Regions from separate parts of the Homo sapiens genome. Here all the other regions are linked to region 3. The links are contacts of gene promoters, found by promoter capture Hi-C in blood cells and fetal thymus (Javierre and others, 2016). All regions are on one chromosome and are shown on one strand. Each heading gives the region's core, a stretch centred on a gene start or on the middle of the fragment in contact. The rest is flanking DNA. Distances are from core to core; before and after follow the strand shown. Region 1 has its middle 12 kb from the start of LINC03135. Region 2 has its middle 4.4 kb from the start of LINC03135. Region 3 holds the start of ARMC12 (armadillo repeat containing 12). Region 4 overlaps TULP1 (TUB like protein 1). Region 5 holds the start of LOC124901310 (a long non-coding RNA gene).

What was found. Contacts are between HindIII fragments. The CHiCAGO score rates a contact against its expected background, and 5 or more counts as called.
Region 1: a contact is called between a fragment that was not itself captured here and the fragment with the promoter of ARMC12 in region 3, in 10 of 17 cell types (activated CD4 T cells, naive CD4 T cells, M2 macrophages and 7 more). The highest score is 10.1, in activated CD4 T cells.
Region 2: a fragment that was not itself captured here is called in contact with the fragment with the promoter of ARMC12 in region 3 in 5 of 17 cell types (non-activated CD4 T cells, activated CD4 T cells, total CD8 T cells and 2 more); the score reaches 7.0 in non-activated CD4 T cells.
Region 4: a contact is called between a fragment that was not itself captured here and the fragment with the promoter of ARMC12 in region 3, in 1 of 17 cell types (naive CD4 T cells). The highest score is 5.4, in naive CD4 T cells.
Region 5: a contact is called between a fragment that was not itself captured here and the fragment with the promoter of ARMC12 in region 3, in 17 of 17 cell types (non-activated CD4 T cells, naive CD8 T cells, total CD4 T cells and 14 more). The highest score is 15.4, in non-activated CD4 T cells.

The regions. Positions count from the first base shown.
Region 1 is chr6:35,529,992-35,533,898 of GRCh38, reverse strand. No RefSeq gene overlaps it. Among named protein-coding and RNA genes, the nearest start is that of LINC03135, 12 kb to the left of the region's middle. The HindIII fragment of the contact is 546 bases long and covers 2,382-2,927 here.
Region 2 is chr6:35,546,026-35,550,083 of GRCh38, reverse strand. No RefSeq gene overlaps it. Among named protein-coding and RNA genes, the nearest start is that of LINC03135, 4.4 kb to the right of the region's middle. The HindIII fragment of the contact is 7,468 bases long and covers 1-4,058 here.
Region 3 is chr6:35,735,302-35,739,118 of GRCh38, reverse strand. ARMC12 (armadillo repeat containing 12) reads right to left here and starts at 2,087. Exons shown (of 6, transcript NM_001286574.2): 1 at 1,848-2,087; 2 at 947-1,092; 3 at 601-735. The coding sequence starts at 2,010. LOC285847 (a long non-coding RNA gene) reads left to right here and starts at 2,172. Exons shown (of 10, transcript NR_027117.2): 1 at 2,172-2,278; 2 at 3,241-3,356; 3 at 3,755-3,817. RefSeq lists enhancers at 590-1,198, 1,199-1,807. The HindIII fragment of the contact is 11,422 bases long and covers 641-3,817 here.
Region 4 is chr6:35,504,932-35,508,676 of GRCh38, reverse strand. It overlaps TULP1 (TUB like protein 1), which reads left to right. Exons shown (of 15, transcript NM_003322.6): 9 at 2,398-2,403; 10 at 2,504-2,674; 11 at 2,824-2,936. It overlaps LOC124901309 (a long non-coding RNA gene), which reads right to left. Exons shown (of 2, transcript XR_007059561.1): 2 at 183-450. Among named protein-coding and RNA genes, the nearest start is that of TULP1, 6.1 kb to the left of the region's middle. RefSeq lists a silencer at 116-316. The HindIII fragment of the contact is 4,634 bases long and covers 1-3,745 here.
Region 5 is chr6:35,563,554-35,567,129 of GRCh38, reverse strand. LOC124901310 (a long non-coding RNA gene) reads left to right here and starts at 179. Exons shown (of 2, transcript XR_007059562.1): 1 at 179-516. RefSeq lists a silencer at 265-465. The HindIII fragment of the contact is 4,561 bases long and covers 1-3,576 here.

The DNA.
Region 1 (3,907 bases), core at 1,405-3,904, 210 kb after region 3:
ACTCTACCCTTGGCCTTCTCAGCTCAAGCGATCGTCAGCTTCCAAGTAGCTGGGACTACAGGTGTGTGCCACTACACCCTGCTAATGCTTATATTGTTTGTAGAAACGAGGTCTCACTATATCGCCAGGCTGGTCTCAAACTCCTGGGCTCAAGCAGTTTGTCCACCTCAGCATCCCAAAGTGCTGGGACTACAGGGGTGGGCCATCACACTCAGCCCGATACTTTCTTTAATAAGTGATGTTGACCCAACTTGCTGTCCCACTAGGAGGAAAATGAGGTGGAATCCCTACTTCTCACCAAAATCGTGAAAATAAATTTCAAATGCTTTAAACATATAAATGTAAACAATATTCAGAGTATATAAAATATATATAATTTTTTGAGATAGAGCCTCTCTCTGTTGCCCAGGCTGGAGTGCAATGGCACATCTCAGCTTACTGCAACCTCCGCCTCCCGGGTTCAAGCGATCCACCTGTCTCAGGCTCCCGAGTAGCTGGGATTACAGGCGCCCACCACCATGCCCAGCTAATTTCTGTATTTTTAGTAGAGACAGGGTTTCGCCATGTTGGTCAGGCTGGTCTCAAACTCCTGACCTGAGGTGATCCACCCACCTCAGCCTTTCAAAGTGCTGGGATTACAGGGGTGAGCCACTGTGCCCGGCCAGAGTATATAAAATATTTCAAACTAAGACCAGAAAACCAGAGCTATAGGAGAAGAGATACACATATAAAATTACATAAACATTTAAAACTGTATATAGCAAAAGATACCTTCATCAAAGTCAAAGGGAATAATAAAATGGGAAGACATTTGAAATCCATGTGACAGATAAGTTAATATCTATATTATTACAAAGAGCTCCTACACACCAATAAGAAAAAGAGAAATAATCCAGGGATGGAAATAGATCATTCAGGCCAGGAATGGTGGCTCACGCCTATAATCCTAGCACTTTGGAAGGTGGAGGTGGGAGGATTGCTTGAGGCCAGGAGTTTGAGGCCAGCCTGGGCAACATAGCTAGACCCCTTCTCTACAAAAAAATCTAAAATTAAAAAATTAAAAATTATCCAGGCATGGTGGCATACACCTGTATTCCCAGCTACTCGAGAGGCTGAGGTAGGAGGATCGCTTGATCCCAGGGGATTGAGGCTGCAACGAGCTATGATCACACCTCTGTCCTCCAGCCTGGGCGACAGAACAAAACCTTATCTCTAAAAACAAAACAAAAGACACACACACACGCACACACACACACAACTGTTTTGCAGAGGCTGGAGGGGTATAAGCTGGTAGAAGAAGAGAGACTGCCTGGTAGACCAGAGGGGGGAGTAGGTGTGGGTAAGGATGGTTTGAATTAGATGTCAATTTTAAACTGTGTGAAGGGCTGCATGGTTTTATAAGGAGTATAAAAATATGAAAGCACAGGTGTGGTCAACCCTTAAAAGTATGGCTATTAATGGGAGAAAAAGGCGATGCCAGGACCTGGAGGGGTTTGGGGAGGTTTATTCTAAGACACGGAGACTAAGCATGTTCACAGGCTTATGGGCGTGGGCCAGCTGGGAGGGAGGGGGACTGAAGGGGATTGAAAAGAGATAATGAGTGCAGCAAGACAGGATGGGATCTGCACATCAGAACCACCAGGAGCTTTTTCAAAATTCCCATCTGGGCTCACTCCAGAACTACTCACTTAGACTCTCCAAATGTTGAGCCAGAGAACCTGGGCTTTATTTTATTTATTTATGTATTTTGAAACAGAGTCTTGCTCTGTCGCTCAGGCTGGAGTGCAGTGGCGTGATCTCAACTCACTGCAACCTCCACCTCCCAGGTTCAAGTGATTCTCCTGCCTCAGCCTTCCTTGTAGCTGGGATTACAGGCACCTGCCACCATGCCTGGCTAATTTTTGTATTTTTGTAGAGATGAGGTTTTACCATGTTGGCCAGGCTGGTCTTGAACTCCTGGCCTTAGGTGATCTGCCTGCCTCAGCCTCCCAAAGTGCTGGGATTACAGGCATGAGCCACCATGCCCAGTCAGAACCTTGGTTTTATTATTATTATTATTATTATTATTATTATTTTTAGATGGAGTCTTGCTCTGTCGCCCAAGCTGAAGTGCGGTGGTTCAATCTCGGCTCACTGCAGCCTCAGCCTCCTGGGTTCCAGTGATTCTCTTGCCTCAGCCCCCCAGGTAGCTGGGATTACAGGCACGCAGCACCATGCCCGGTTAATTTTTGTACTTTTAGTAGAGACGGGGTTTCACCATGTTGGCTGGGCTGGTCTCGAACTCCTGACCTCAGGTGATCCACACACCTCAGCCTCCCAAAGTGCTGGATTACAGGTGTCAGCCACCGCACCTGGCCAAGAACCTGGGCTTTAAATAAGCTTCTTGAATAGCATCAAATGATAAATCGATTACACAGGAATGAATGTAACAAAATATTTGCAAAGAACACTACAGAAGGCCAGGTGCGGTGGCTTACACCTGTAATCCCAGCACTTTGGGAGCCGAAGCGGGTGGATCACCTGAAGTCAGGAGTTTGAGACAGCCTGGACAACATGGTAAAACCCTGTCTCTACTAAAATTACAAAAATTAGCTAGGTGTGGTGGTGCACGCCTATAATCCCAGCTACTCAGGTGGCTGAGGCAGGAGAATCGCTTGAACCCGAGAGGTGGAGGTTGCAGTGAGCCAAGATCACACCACTGTACTCCAGCCTGGGTTACAAAGCAAGAGCCTGTCTTAAAACAAACAAACAAACAAAAAACAAAAAACAAAAAAGCACACACACAGGGAAAGAGTAAACTTTTCAGTAAATCAACTGAGTGTGCTCCTATGGGGAAAAAAATGAAACCTGACCCTTACCTCACACCATCAACAGATAAATTCCAGGTGGGCTATAGTCTTCAATACGAAAAGCAAAAGAATAAAGCTTATAAAAAATAATATAGGGTTAGGTGTAGGGGCTAACACCTGTAATCCCAGCATCTTGGGAACCCAAGGCAGGAGGATTACTTGAGTCTAGGAGTTTGAGACCAGCCTGGGCCACATAGGGAAACCCTGTCTCTAAAAAAGTTCAAAAAATCAGCTGGGCACACACCTGTGGTCCCAGTTACTCAGGAGGCTGAGATGGGAGGATCACTTGAGCCTGAGAGGTTGAGGCTGCAGTGAGCCATGATCATACCACTGCACTCCAGCCTGGGTGACTGAGTGAAACACTGTCTCAAAAAGTAATATAAATAAATAATAAATAAATAAAATAGGCCGGGCGCGGTGGCTCATGCCTGTAATCCCAATACTTTGGGAGGCCAAGGCAGGCAGATCATCTGAGGTCAGGAGTTCGAGACCAGCCTGACCAACATGGAGAAACCCCGTCTCTACTAAAAATACAAAATTAGCTGGGCGTGTTGGCACAGACCTGTAATCCCAGCTACTTAGGAAGCTGAGGCGGAAAGATCACTTGAACCTGGGAGGCGGAGGTTGCGGTGAGCCAAGATCACGCCATTGCACTCCAGCCTGGGCAACAAGATCAAAACTCTGTCTCAAAATAAGTAAATAAATAAAAGTAAAATAAAAAATAATAGGGAGTAGCCAGGTGTATGGCTGGCACCTGTAGTCCTAGGTACTTGGGAGGCTGAGGCAGTAGGATCACTTGAGTCCAGGAATTTGAGACTGCAGCGAGTTATGATCGTGCCGCTGCACTCCAGCCTGGACAACAGAGTGAGACCCTGTCTCTAAAAAATAATAATAAAATGTTTAAAAATTAATTAAGGCAATAAAAATTAAAAATAAATTTTAAAAATTAATGTATAATTCCATTTATATAACACTCCAAAGCAGGCAAAACTAATCCACATACCCATAGAAATCAGGGTGGTGGTGCCTTTGAAGGTGAGGAAAAGGATGAGGCTTTT
Region 2 (4,058 bases), core at 440-2,939, 190 kb after region 3:
TTGCTTAGTGACTTTTCTGACTTAATTCTGTGAAGTCTATATTCTGTGTTGTATATGGCTACTGAAGTCTTTTCTTGGTTAGCTTAGTGGTCAGCCAATGATGACACAGATTTCTGTCACTGCCTGGAACCAGCAAGCCTCACAGCCTTTGCCCAGGGGCTCTGGGTGCATGTTGGGGTGTGCCTTCCACAGTCAGCCTGGCAGTTGACAACTCTGCCCCAGCATTGACCTACTCCTTGGAAAAGGCCCTGGCTCTTATTCCACCTGAAAAGCTCACCCTCTCAAATAAATTAAAGATGAATCAGTAGGGGATCTATGCAAAGACACTAGAAGAAAAAAGGAGGAAAGGGGCCAGGTGTGGTGGCTTATGCCTATCATCCCAGAACTTTGGGGGGCTAAGAGGGAAGGATCACTTGAGCCCAGTAATTCAAGACCAGTCTGGCCAACACAGGGAAACATTGTTTCTACAACATAAAAAATAAATTTAAAAAAAAGAAAAAAGGAAGAAAGGAACAAGATAAATATACAAAAACTGAAGAACACTTATTAGAAAATTTTTACCACTGAGCAGGTGAAAAATTCAAATAAGTATTTCATTTAAAAATTTAAAAAAAAAAAAAACTCTTCCGTAAAGCCAAAGCACAAATAAGAAACTAAGGTTGCCAGGCACGTTGGTTCACGACTGTAATTGCAGCACTTTGGGAGGCTGAGGCGGGTGGATTGCTTGAGGTCAGGAGATCGAGACCAGCCTGACCAACATGGTAAAACCCTGTCTCTACTAAAAAAAAAAAAAAATTAGCCAGGCATGGTGGCAAGTGCCTGTAATCCCAGCTACTTGGGAGGCTGAAGCAGGAGAATCACTTGAACCCAGGAGGCGGAGGTTATAGTGAGCCAAGATCATGCCACTGCACTCCAGCCTGGGTGACAGAGCGAGACTCCGTCTCAGAAAAAAAAAAAAAAAAAAGAAAGAAAGAAAGAAACTGAGGCCAGGCATGGTGGCTCATGCCTGTAATTCCAGTGCTTTGGGAGTCTGAGTGAGGAGGATCACCTGAGGCCAGGAGTTCAAGACCACCCTGGGCAACATAGTGAGACCCCATCCCTACAAAAAATTAAGAATAGGCCAGGCCTAGTAGATTCTTGCCTGTAATTCTAGCACTTTGGGAGGCTAAGATGGGAGGATTGCTTGAGGCCAGGAGTTCTACACCAGACTGGGCAAGATGGCAAGATCCCATCTCTACAAAAAATTTAAAAATTAGCTGGGCATGGCATGCACCTGTGGTCCCAGCTACTCAGGAGGCTGAGTGAGGAAGATTTATTGAGCCTAGGAATTTGAGGCAGCAGTGAGCTATGATCATGCCACTGCATTTCAGCCTGGGTGACAAAGAGGGACCCCATCTCTTAAAAAAAAATTAATACATATGTATTTTTAAATGGCCAGGTGCGGTGGCTCATGCCTGTAATCCCAGCACTTTGGGAGGCTGAGGCAGGTGGATCACGAGGTCAGGAGTTCAAGTCCAGCCTGGCCAACATGGTGAAACCCCATCTCTACTAAAAAAAAATACAAAAATTAGCCGGCTCTGGTGGTGGGCACCTGTAATCCCAGCTACTTTGGAGGCTGATGCAGGAGAATCACATAAACCCAGGAGGCAGAGATTGCAGTGAGCCAAGAAAGCGCCACTGCACTCCAGTCTGGGCAAAAGAGTAAGACTCCATCTTGAAAAAAAATTTTTTTTTAATTAAAAAAAAGCCAGGCATGGTGGTGCAGGCCTGTAGTCCTGGCTACTTGGAGTCTGAGACAGGAGGATCTCTCGAGCCCAGGAGTGCAAGGCTGTAGTGAACTAGGATTGTGTCACTGCATTCCAGCCTGGGTGACAGAGTGAGACTCTGTCTCAAAAAAGAGAGAGAGAAAGAGCTGGCAAAACCCAGGAAATACGTGGAAGAGAAAAATTAAAGCAGCACAGAGGAGAAGAGAAAATGGAAAGTATCACAGGAAAAGCAGATGCCACCAAAAACACAGAGAGGACTGTAACAAAGTGAGTGAGAAAATGGAAAGGGGATAGTTAAATGGGAAGTTTACCCTGTAAGCTCTTCTTCCTAGATAGCTAAAAGGAAATGACATATGGCAAACGGACAAGAGAGCTAATAGATACGCAGTTGTAGTTCCTAAGGAAACAAAAGAACAAACATGAAGACAGAATCCTGAAACTGTTTCCAGCACTAAGAAAACAGGATTATGCATCTTCAAAGGCCATGTCCCAATAAAAGTGGATATAAACAGTCAACATTTCCAAATGAACTGACGTTCACAGATAAGGATACAATTCTTTGAACTGACAGGCTAACGGACCAAATCACCAGTAAGAAGAAAAGAATGTGCGGGGCTCACCCATCTCTGCAACTGCGACCCAATGTTATAGGACAGCGGAGCAAACAACACCTAGAAATCCTGAAAGATGCAAATGTAACCCAAGACGTTTATACCCAGCCCACACATTTCTGAACAGGCAAAACTCAAGGAATGTTGCTCTTGTGAGCTCCTCCTAAGGAAAATACTCAAAGGTGAAGCTCAGCCATCCAGGATGGGAGCCCAAGCTAATAGTCTGGCACAGCAGAGCTCCCGGGATGGCTGAGCAAGGGCTCCCACGCCTGCGCTCAGTGTAGAACTCACGCCTTTCATACCCTGGGGGACCATTCCAATGCCCCCTTCTCTATACAAGAAATGATTTTCAGTTAATAACCATGTTCTCATTAATAATTATTTTCTTCATTACTTAATTTTAAAACAAAAAATTAACTTCAAATTTTAAAAATATTATTCAATCAAATGAAATATTTCATGTACCAATTAAAAGTTATACTGATTAAAAAAAACTACACCTTAAGCTGACATTCTATTTTGCTGTTTTAAATTCAAAAAACAGCAAATTTATGGATTTGGGATGGGATTACAGGTATGGCAACAGGCACCTGTAATCCCATCTATTTAAGAGGCTAGGGCAGGCCAGGTGTGGTGGCTCACACCTGTAATCCCAACATTTGGGAGGCCAAGGTGGGTGGATCGTTTGAGGTCAGGAGTTCGAGACTAGCCTGGCCAACATGGCGAAACCCTGTCTCTATTAAAAATACAAAAATCAGCTGGGCGTGGTGGTGGACACCTGTAATCCCAGCTACTTGGGAGGTCTAGGCACAACAATCACTTGAATCCGGGAGGTGGAAGTTGCAGTGAGCTGAGATTGTGCCACTGCACTCCAACCTGGACAACAGAGCGAGACTCTGTCTAAAAAGAAAAAAAGAAAAAAAAAAAAGAAACTAGGGCGGGAGGATGGCTTGAGCCCAGGAGTTCCAGTCCAGTCTGGGCAACATCGCAAGACCCCATCTCAACTATAAAAAAAAAAAAAAAAAAGAATTAAAAACAAATTAAAACTCCAAGCAATCATATAACTGAATTGAAATGATTCAAGTTGTTTAATCATTTTTACAAGCACAGCATACAATCACTTCTATACACTCTGTGTACCATCATTTATTTCATATTCACTAAATGCAGAAGTATGTTGTACGGTGGGGCTAAAGACACAAACCACACTGAAGAGAGCAGAAAGCATTTCAAATCTTTAGGGACCTACTCTCCAAATAAGTAGCTGTGTTTGTTGAGGGGGGAGTAATTTTCCGAATTAGCTTCCATGTAGAATATAAAGGATAACTAATTAAAATGTGCTAATTTGAAGGATATAGAGGGTTAATAATTTCATTTAAGTTCTTGGGTACATGTGCAGGATATACAGTTTTGTTACATAGGTAAACATGTGCCATGATGGTTTGCTGCACCTATCAACCTATCACCTAGGCATTAAGCCCAGCATGAATTAGCTATTTATCCTGATGCTCTCCCTCCCCACAGATAGAGGGGTTTTTTAGTTTTTTTTTAATTGAAACTCAAGGCTGGGCACAGCGGCTCACGCCTATAAACCCAGCACTTCAGGAGGCTGAGGCGGGCGAATCACATGAGGTCAGGAGTTCCAGGCCAGCCTAGTCAACATGGTGAAACCCCGCCTCTA
Region 3 (3,817 bases), core at 838-3,337:
CGCCCTGACACCCTGCCCTATGTGTCTCCTCCGTTTAGCTGTTCCTGAGTTGTGTCCTTTATATAAAAAACCAGTAATAGTAAGTAAAGTCCTTTCCTGAGTTCTGGGAGCCATTCTAGCAAATTAGTAGATCTAAAAAGGGAGTTGTGGGAACCCCCGAATTCATAGCGGGCCAGTCAGAAGTCAGACCTATGATTGGTACCTGAAGTCGGGGGGAAGTCTTGGGGGACTCAGCCCTTAACCTGTGAAGTCTGCCCTAACTATGGATAGTGTCTGAACTGAATTGAATTGTTGAACACCCAGCCAGTGTTGGGAATTGGTGTCAGAAAAAACGTGGCAGTGGTAGGGAGCTTGTGGGGTAGTGGGGGTCCTTCTCTTTGGGGTTGAGAGATACCACTAGTGCCTCAATTCAGTTTCATCCTGAAATTCAAAGGCCTTCATGACCCTGCTGGGAATCTGACCACCGTTTTCCCACTTATTTCTGGGTTACAAATTCACACCCAAACAAACTTCTGGAACATGACCATTTATCCTATGGCAATTAAAGGACTTAAGGACTATAGACATCCTGCATGCCCCACCACGCATCCCTGGGCTCACCTGGATTTTGAGCCTGAATTTTCTGATGCCAGAGAAAGCTTTAAGTGTATTCAGAGCTTGGGTTTTGACACTGTTGTCCTTGTCATCCAGCATGTAGCCCAGCAACACGATGTCATCCGTAGTACAAGCAGAGGCCTGGAGTATTGGGGAGAGATGGAAGAGGCAGGAGAAGCGGGTGTTCTGGGCCCACTGCCCCCCATGTCACCAAGATCCCTCCGCACACCCCCCCCCCACCGCTATCAGCCAGAGAGAGGTCCCAGGATATAGTCTGGCCATTCCAGGGGCAGGGATCGGCCGTAACCCCCAGGGGCCAGGCCGGCTAGGGGGGACCTCCTGCTTCCCTTACCTCAGCCTCCAGCAAGTACACACAGCGAGTGATACTGTGCAGGATCATGCTCTTGGCATACTCATCCTGTTTGCACTCCAAAGAGTTGAGGAGCCTCCGGAGCTCACCTGAGTCCCGCCCGTGCCGCTCTCGCTCGACTGCCAGGCCTAGACAGCCACCCCAGCCCAGTTCAGGCTGTGGACTCAGAAGTGATGAAAGAATGGGGTTGGGAAGTAGGGGACAGGGACTTGGGGACAAGGCTGCCTTGCCTTTTCGGAGAAGCCTTCTCGCCATATGCAGGACCACCATGTACAGTTGAACGAATGTTTACTGCACAAGGGCACCCTATCTAATGTTGTATTGTCCATAACGTACCATCATAGATTTGTCCATTTACTCTAACAACTGTCTGGCATATGGCGGTAACAAGTAGTATTTCATCATAACCAGTATGTGGCAATGATATTCCAGCAGATGGCAATAAAGAGTCTTGCAGAAGGGGCTCATTTTCCTACTCTGCACAAAAGAACATGTGGACTAGTGGAAGCTCTGGGCATATAGTAAGTCCTCCAATCTTCCCTTTCCTTAAAGCCTCACGTTCCTAGGGCAGAAAAGGGATGGGGGGAGCTGCCGACACCAAGTTTCCAAGAAGTGGAATCCTGGGAGCCAGAGGAAATGTAGTATTTGGAGACCTGCCAGATGAGTCTGAGGATCCACTTGAGTGAGATCCAGGGACCCTGAGCTAGCATCTCTGGCAGGGCCTTGCCTAGGACGCTGCAGGGTGGGCTTGAGGAAGATGGACAAGAGAAAGACAAAGGAAAGAGGAACTTGGAGGCATCACCTTTGGGCCCTCCCACAGCAGAGGCCTCGGGAGCAGGTGCCTCCTGGGGCAGAGCCCTCTCCCCAGGGCCCGGACACTCACGGGCGATGCAGATGGGTGAGTTGCTACAGAGGGGTGGTTTGCATTTTATGCCAGCCTTGATGGCCTTGTAGAGCAGGTAGATCGCCCCGGCGCCTGTGGCCAGGCTGACTACGCTTTTGCGGATGTCCAGTTGCCCCAGGTATTGGGGGATGCTCTTGCCCATGTCTTCAGTGTTGCCCTGGGCCCAGGTGAGAGCTAGGCCCAAGGCACCTGTGGGGGGCCTTCCGGAACCAGAACTCTGGCAGGGTCAGGAACCAGGGTACCAGAATTGGAACCTAGGCAACAAAGGAAACTGGGGAGATAATGGGATGGAGGGCAGTGGTCAGGAAATGGGGCAGCCAGGAGTGCTCGAGAACAGATGGGGCCAGGCACCATGGCCCACACTTGTAATCCCAGCACTTTGGGAGGCCAAGGCAGGCAGATCACTTGAGGTCAGCAGTTCGAGACCAGCCTGGCCAATATGGTGAAACCTTGTCTCTATTAAAAATACAAAAAAATTAGCCAGGCATTGTGGCGCACACATGTAATCCCAGCTACTCAGGGGACTGAGGCAGGAGAATCGCTTAAGCCTGGGAGGTTGAGGTTGCAGTGAGCTGACACGCCACTGTACTCCAACCTAAGCGACAGAGCAAGACTCCATTTCAAAAAAAAAAAGAGAAGGTTCTGCTTTAGAGACCACAGGAGATGAAGCATAAGACAGAAGGGGAATAAAAGGGGAGAGGGCAGAAGTGTCCTTCACATCTCCTCTTCTTTAAGGGGGGACCCCAGCAGGTAGCTCCAGAGGCTGCCTTTCCACCATTAGAGGGCAGCAGAGGTCCATTTCCGGGCTGGGGCCTTAGGGCATTTCTGGGTGAGGTGTTTGGGGTATGCCCATTGACAACCCTGTTCCTTTTCTTTCCGGGCCCTCCCATATGTGATCTCTCCACCCTAGATCTACCCCTGGGCCTTGGGGTGTTTCTTCAGGTAGGGTTCCCTCCCCGCATCAGAGGATGAAAAGGAGGGGAGTATCTTAGAAAGCATGCACAGACTCTTGAGGCAAATCCACCCTTTTCCAGCATCTGCATGTTGCCCTGAAGTTTACCTGTTTGACAAAGTGCTCTTGAGGACAGCTACCTTTGCATCTCCAGCATAGAATCTTGTACTTAGCAGGTGGTTTAAGTCATGTTCTGCCATTCTTTAAGGACTTGGCGGCAGAACAATGACAGCATCTAGTAACTGGGGCTCCAGACCCTTCTAACCAGAGTGACCTTGGAGGAGAAAGGGATCGCCTTTGCCTTAGTCTGTTTCTGCATTTGTAACCTAAAGGGATTCGGATTTACCATTCTAAAACTCCAGGATTAAAATGTGGGTAAGTCTGTGCCTTTCAGCTAAATTTGGAAGTATCACCTCTCAGCCTCCCCAGGGATATGAGGCGGCTTGTGAGGTCCTCTGGAGTCAGAAGATGCCACCACCCCAGAGGATGTGAGCCCACCTGTGGAGGTCTTGATCCCCACCACTAGGATGGGGCAGGTGAGACCAGACCCTTCCCTCTTCCCCACCAGGGTCTCCCCGCAACTTCTGTCCCCACTCTCTGTTGCAGAACAGGCAAGTGGCCAGCTCCAAACTAGGGCCACGCCCACAGCCAGTGCTGAGCATGCTGCACCAGAACAGGTGTTCACCTACCTGGCCCTGATCCCTTTTTGGGAGAACTGGGACAGAAGGCTCTGGGTCCTGGGCTGCACCCAGGATGGAAGGAGGTAGGGAAACAGCATCTCCAATGATGCTGCGGCCAGCCAGGCCTGCCCACTCAGAGCCTTGGCCCAGTACACCCTAGGCAGCAGGCAGGGAACAAGCAACACTCCTGGGTGGCCATTCTATTCCTGTCCTCAGCCCTCCTCAAGGGTCATCATTCCTGGCACTCTATTTAGCCCCAAGGTGGGTGACTACATGAACTCCCTGTGGTGAGGGGTGAGTAGAAGCCCATGGAAGCC
Region 4 (3,745 bases), core at 1,058-3,557, 230 kb after region 3:
CATCTCCATGGCGAACAGGTTGTTAAATATTTTGAATATTGCCCCTGCTCCCAAACAGGACTCAGACACCAACACACAAAAGCTGGAGTAAGCAGGAGAGGGAGGTCCAACTGACAGAAAGTAACAAAAGTCTTCAAGGAACAGGTTTCTCCCAGTGGGAAGATCACCACGAGGACAGGGCCTGGATTTTAGCTTTGTAGGTTTATTAGTTTGTGCAGGAGTGGTCAGGTCTAGGGGGACTGATTCACATTAACCAAGATCACCAGATGCTGATGTACAAACTGAAAGGCCAGTTTACTGTCTCCCAGAGGGGAATGTAACTGCAGAACAGCCTTCAGTACAGTAGGCTCTTGAAATTTGCAGCTGCTGAAGTGTTTGAATAAGTTCTGGCTTTCTCCACATCGTGTTCCAAACATAGTCTTTTGTTTCCCAGGTTTCTTCTGGAACAACCTAGAGTAGAGAACAGGTGATCACTTGTCCCTGAGCTGAGGGTTCACTGCTCTACATCAGCCTCCCTCAAACACACTGCAAACCTGTGCTCAACAAAAACAGCCATGGCCAGGCAAAGTGGCTCATGCCTGTAATCCCAGCACTTTGGGAGGAGGAGGCAGATGGGTCACTTGAAGTCAGGAGTTCAAACCAGCCTGGCGAATAGTAGAGATGGTGAAACCCCATCTCTACTAAAAATACAAAAATTATCGGGGCATGGTGATGCGCACCTGTAGTCCCAGCTACTTAGGAGGATGAGGCAGGAGAATCACTTGAACCCAGGAGGTGGAGGCTGCAGCGAGCTGAGATCACGCCACTGCATTCCAGCCTGGGCAACAAGAGCGAGGCTCCATCTCAAAAAAATAAAAAATAAATTTTAAAAAATGGCCAACCACAGCACATCTTTGTGGATTCTTCGTGGCTCCCAAATAGCATTGAACCCTCAAATGCACACACCCAGGCTGGCAGTCCATGCTTGCCTCTGTTGGAAAAGTTGGGCTTAGACTCTTGGCTCCCTTCCTGTGAGGGATAGAACATGAGGACAAAGGGCACCAGGTTTGTGAGAACAGAAGGGGCTGTTGTGGGGTCACCAGGCCACCCTAGGGCTTTATGTCACCAAATTGTTCTTAGGAGTTTCTCAATGAGCAAAGTGAGCTTACATATTCATTCATGTGTTAACTATGCATTGCTATGTAACAAATCACCCCAAACTGAGCATCTTAAAACAACATTTACTTTCTTATTCAATTTCTGAGAGCCAGAAATCTAGGAGTGGCTTAGCAGAGTAGTTCTGGCTCAGGGTCTCGGAGGAAGCTGCAGTCAAAATGTCAGCTGGGGCTTCGGTCACTCTGAAGGCTTCACTGGAAATGAAGGATCCACTTCTAAAATAGTTCCCTGTGGTAGGTGTTAGCTGGAGATCTCAGTTCCTTCCTACAGGGACCTCTCCTGGAGGCTGCTTGAGTGTTCTTTTTTTTTTTTTTTTTTGCTTGAGTGTTCTTATGGCATGGCAGCCAACTTCTCCCAAAGTCCAAGAGACAGAGAGCCATATAGAAGCCACAATATCTTTTATGACCTAACCTTGGAGTGGCCCATGATCACTTCTGCCATATTCTACTGGTCACAGGGACCAACCCTGGTATGCAGTGGGAGGAGACTACACAAAGGCACAAATACCAGGAGACAAGGATCACTGGGTGCCATCTTATGATAATGAATATCATCTTGACTATGGTATTCATTATTTACTATACGCTAACAATAAGAGTAGCAGCTAACACTTCCATAGTGCTTAGAACACAGCAGTCCATTCTGTTAGCCCCACTTCACTGCCTGAGACAGTGTGCAAAGGAGGGAAGGTCTTTCTAAAGGCTCTGGACCTCATAGGAGATTGGACAAAACTCATGCCCCAGCCCCACCTCTTACTAGTTATGTGAACTTGGGCAAGTGACTTAACTTCTCTAAGCCTCAGTTTCTTCATCTATACAATGGGGATGACTATCGCAGTGGGGTGATAAGAGGATGAAATGAGTAAATATTTCGAAAGTACTTGAAACTATGGCACCCTGATAGAATTTATGCAAGCGTGTGTTAAATACATAGGTAAGGTCTGTCCCAGGTATCCACCCCTACTATACCTACTTCTCAGATGAGAAAATTGAGTTACAGTGTGGTGAAACTTAACAGTGAAGACAGTTAGTAGTGAAACTAGGATTTGAACCTAGACAGTCTGGCTCCAGAGTGTGTGCTCCTATCCACAAGCTAAGCAGAATCAAAATAAATCACAGAGCTCCCCAGAGCCTCCTAACTTGGCCGTGCCGGGCTGCCAGGGAGCATGAGGGGCAGTGGCTTCCCCGCCTCCAGGGATGCGGCCCCTGCTCTAGCCAGCCTCTCTGTTCTCTCCGCACACAGAAAGCGGTGAGTTGTCCTGCCGGGCTGCCCGTGTCTCAGCACTGGGACCTGCTGGGAGCGGGGGAGCTGGTGCTCTGGGGCTGATGTACCCTCTGCCCCCACCCAGAAGGAGGAGAGGGCCCCGTCTCCCCCCGTGGAGGTGGACGAACCCCGGGAGTTTGTGCTCCGGCCTGCCCCCCAGGGCCGCACGGTGCGCTGCCGGCTGACCCGGGACAAAAAGGGCATGGATCGAGGCATGTATCCCTCCTACTTCCTGCACCTGGACACGGAGAAGAAGGTGGGTGGGGAGAGGCAGCAGAGGAGGGAGTGTGGAGGGATCCGGCATGGGGGCCACGGGACAAACGGGCCTGATTTCTCCCTGCAGCTCACCTCCACCCCTTCCCACCTTCTCTTCCCATCCTCTCACCTGTCTCCCCTTTTCCCCAGGTGTTCCTCTTGGCTGGCAGGAAACGAAAACGGAGCAAGACAGCCAATTACCTCATCTCCATCGACCCTACCAATCTGTCCCGAGGAGGGGAGAATTTCATCGGGAAGCTGAGGTGGGGCTGGGCTTCCTGGGGCTGGGGGGACTTGGGTCAGCAAAAGGCCATAGCCCGTCATCTCTGTCCTGCTGTGCCTGGTAGAGCACCCACCACAGTGGGCACCCTGGAAACGTCCCCTAGCCTAGGGCCTCTCGCTTTGATGTACATAGATCATGTGGGGAGCTTGTTAAAATGGTTGAGTGTGTGGGGTGGGCCCGGGAGTCTACATTTTTAATGAGCACCCAGGCGATGCCCACACTGCTGCCAGCCCAGGGCCTCACTTGGAGCAGGGCATAAGTTCCACGAGGGCAGGCACTGTGCCTGCCTTGTTTAGGGCTGAATTCCTAGCACTGAACACATATTAGCTACTCAACAAGTATTTACTGATCAAGTGAATGAACATATATTCAGCACTATCCTGTGCTGTCTTCCCATACATCTCATCTAATCCTCACCACAAATCTGAGAGCTGAAGGAAGGGGATGCCTGAGTCAGGCCTTATTTCCTAAATGTATGTATTTAGGCTGGGCACAGTGGCTAATGCCTGTAATCCCAGCATTTTGGGAGGCCAAGGCGGGTGGATCACCTGAGGTCAGGAGTCCGAGATCAGCCTGGCCAACATGGTGAAACCCCGTCTCTATTAAAAATACAAAAATTAGCCAGGTGTGGTGGCATGCACCTGGAGTCCCAGCTACCTGGGAGGCTGAGGTGGGAGAATCTCTTGAACCCAAGACGGGGAGGTTGCAGTGAGCTGGGATCATGCCACTGCACTTCCAGCCTGGGTGACAGACCAAGACCCTGCCTCAAAAATAAATGAATAAATAAAT
Region 5 (3,576 bases), core at 159-2,658, 170 kb after region 3:
ACCCTCCCCGCAGAAACTGTTCCTCCCACCCCCCACCAGTGTAACCGCATTCTTGCACTTTTCAAGTTAGCCAACCGGGTTCAGCTTGGATTGGTCCAGCTCCAGCCAATGGAGACAGGACACAGTAGCGGGCACAAGCTGTGTTAGGAATAAAAACCCCTTCCCTCCTTTGTTTGGGGTGCTCTCGTGGCGACCAGACCTACAAGAAGCACCCTTCTGCAGAAGCAAATTTGCCTTGCTGAGAGATCCTTTGTCTCAGTGCTGGTTCTTCTTTGCAGCACTGAGCATTTGTTTCCAACAAATTTGGTGGCCCATATGGGGACCTCATTCTCCTCCGGGAAAGGGTCTCTGATCACTTCTCATGAGGAGACGCATCCCGCTAACTCATTGCAGTGGCCTCAAGGGTAAAGAATCGGGACCCACCCAGTGCAACCAATAAACCCAGACTCTTAGCAACACAGGAAGAAAAGGCCTACAGTTACTGTGGTGAGCAGGTAACGCTATGCACAGACCAAGGTAAGAAAAACTGTGGGGGTGGTGAAGTACTTCCTTGGTGGTAGGGACAGTTTGGAGGTTAAAAGTGTGTAAATAAGATGCACAATTAAGTGCAAAGCGAGTGTGGAGTAAAGTAAAGGAGTGCAAGAAATCTCCAGTGGGGGAGCTGAGCCTCCAGGGAAAGGGAGCAAAAAAAAAACAATCTCTAGTAAAAGAGGTTGAGCCAGGAGGCCGAGGCGGGTGAATCACGAGGTCAGGAGATCGAGACCGTCCTGGCTAACACAGCGAAACCCCATCTCTACTAAAAATACAAAAAAAAAAAAAAAATTAGCCGGGCGTGATGGCGGGCGCCTGTAGTCCCAGCTACTCGGGAGGCTGACGCCAGGGAATGGCGTGAACCTGGGAGGTGGAGCTTGCAGTGAGCCAAGATCGTGCCACTGCACTCCAGCCTGGGTGACAAAGCGAGACTCTGTGTCAAAAAAAAAAAAAAAAAAAAAGAGGTTGAGCCCCACACACACTCAGGTTGAGCCTTCAGGGAAAAGGGTGCAAGAAATCTCTAATAGGAGAGACTGAGCCCCCATTAACTTCCAGGATGGGAAATACCCCTAGTAAAACAAGAACTACAAAGGACCAAACATAAGAAAAAGCAACAGATGATAAAATATTGTTGTTTTTTTTGAACCAAAGAAACTATTCTTAAACCTTTAGTTTTCTGGCCAAGTTTTGGGTCAAATAAGGATTAGATTTGTCAACTTTTAATAAAGTATGTAAATAACAAAAGTCCTGTCTCCCAGGAAGAAATAGACTATGCCCTGCACTGGCGGCAGGGGCCTGTCCTCTACCCCCTAAAAACTGCAGGAAAAAAAGCCAGAAAATACCTCCCCTAAAGAAAGTAAAATCCCTAACCCCAAACAGTCCACTAGCACATGGGATTCAAAATTTCCCTTTCCCCTCCTCCTCAAAAAAGTCTACCCCAACCCTTTTTCCCTTAAGGGAAGTGCCTCTAGGAGGAGGGGAAATTGGCTTTGTAAATGCCCCTTAACTAGTTCAGAGGTCAGAAACCTAAGGAAGAAACTTAAACCACTATTAGATGATCTTTTTAGGGTTGTGGATCAAATTAACCGATTTTTAGGACCACAAGTATACACTTGGGCTGAGCTAATGTCCATCTTAAGTATTCTCTTTTCGGGAGAGGAAAGAACCATGATCCGCAGGGCTGCTATGATAGTCTGAGAGCGCAAACACCTTCCCAGTCAAAATATCCCTGCAGCAGAACAAAAATCGCCGGCCCAAAACCCCCAATGGGATAATAACAATGCAGCCCACCAAGAAAACATGAAAGGCCTTAGGAAAATGATAGTTAAAGGGATTCGGGAATCAGTGCCTCAAACCCAAAATATTTCCCGAGCATTTAATATGCAGCAAGGAAAAAACAAAGGGCCCACGGAGTTTTTAAACAGACTCAAGGAACAGGTAAGAAAATATACAGGCTTAAACATAAAGGATCCCCTTGGACAGGGGATGTTAAAGCTCCATTTTGTTACTAGTAGCCAAATATCACAAAGAAATTACAAAAACAGAGAACTGGAAAGATCAGCCTATAGAGGGAATGGAGGGAGTCAGGGAGAGAGAGAAAGAGAGGCAAAGAGAGAAGATGGAGAGGCAAGGAGAGACAGAGAGACAAAGAGAGGCAGAAAGAGAAAGACAGAGAGAGAGAGGGAGGAAAAGACAGAGAGCCAGAGGGAGAGGGAGAGAAAGAGAGGCAGAGAGAGAGAGAAAGAAGACAAAACAAATGTTTCAAATGTAAAAGAATAGGTCACTTCAAAAGAGAATGTCCCAAATGGGAAAAAGAAACAAAAGTCATATATAAAAGCAGATCAGCTAATATTAAATTTCTGTTAATTCCAGAGGCAAGAACAAACCTATTAGGGAGAGATCTAATGTTAAAATTTGGCTTAAGCCTCTACATTAATCAGGGAAAACTTCTCACCTCCCTGAACTTACCACCACAGATTATGAAAAGTGTATCCATCCTGATACATGGTCAAAAAAAGGACATCGAGAGAAATTACCAGTTCCTCCAATCGAGGTCAAATTAAAAACTCCCAGGAAAATAGTAAAAAGAAAACCCTTCCTTTGAAAGCCGGGCAAATAATCTAGCTGACCAAATAGCCAAGCAAGCTGCCTTTTCCCAAGCAGTACCCATTTTCCATTCAGCCCCTTGCCTTCCCCTCCAGCTGCGGTCCCCATCTTCTCCCATAAAGACCAAAAAAATGTTAAAAGAAATAGGAGCCAAGAAAAGCTCAGAGGGAAGGTGGGTACTACCAGATGGGAGAAAATGTTGTCTAAACCTCTCATGAGGGAAATATTGTCGCAGCTCCATCAAGGATCTCACTGGGGACCCCAAGCCATGTGTGGTGCAGTCCTTAGAGTTTACAGGTGTATAAGCATATACACTCTTGCTAAGCAAGCAGTTACAGAGTGTGCAGAAAAACTAATAAACAAATCCTAAAAAGGCAACCTACTGGGGGCAGAAATCCAGGGCTAAGACCATTCCAAAGTGCTCAAATTAATTACACTGAGATGCCCCCAGTCGTTTGCCTGAAGTACTTGTTGGTAATAGCAGACCACTTTACTCGCTGGGTAGGAGCCACCCCCTTCTCAAGTGCAACCACCAGTAATGTAGTTAAAGCATTAGTTAAAAACATTATACCCAGGTTTGGACTAATAGAAAACATGGATTCAGACAATGGAACCCATTTCACTGCACGTGTCATTAAAAAGCTAGCCCAGGTGCTAGACATAAAACAGGAATGCCATATCCCTTGGCAGGAAGGGTAAAAAGAATGAACCAGACTCTTAAAAAACCACCTCACCAAATTAATCCTAGAAACCCAGCTACCCTGGACTAAATGTCTCCCCATTGCCTTATTAAGAATCAGAACCATCCCTTGGAAAGATATCAGCTTATCCCCTTATAAAACGCTATATGGGCTACCTTATGTACATTCCACTACTGACATTCCTACATTTAAAACAAAATGTCAGTTCCTCAAAAATGATATACTTGGTCTATCTTCC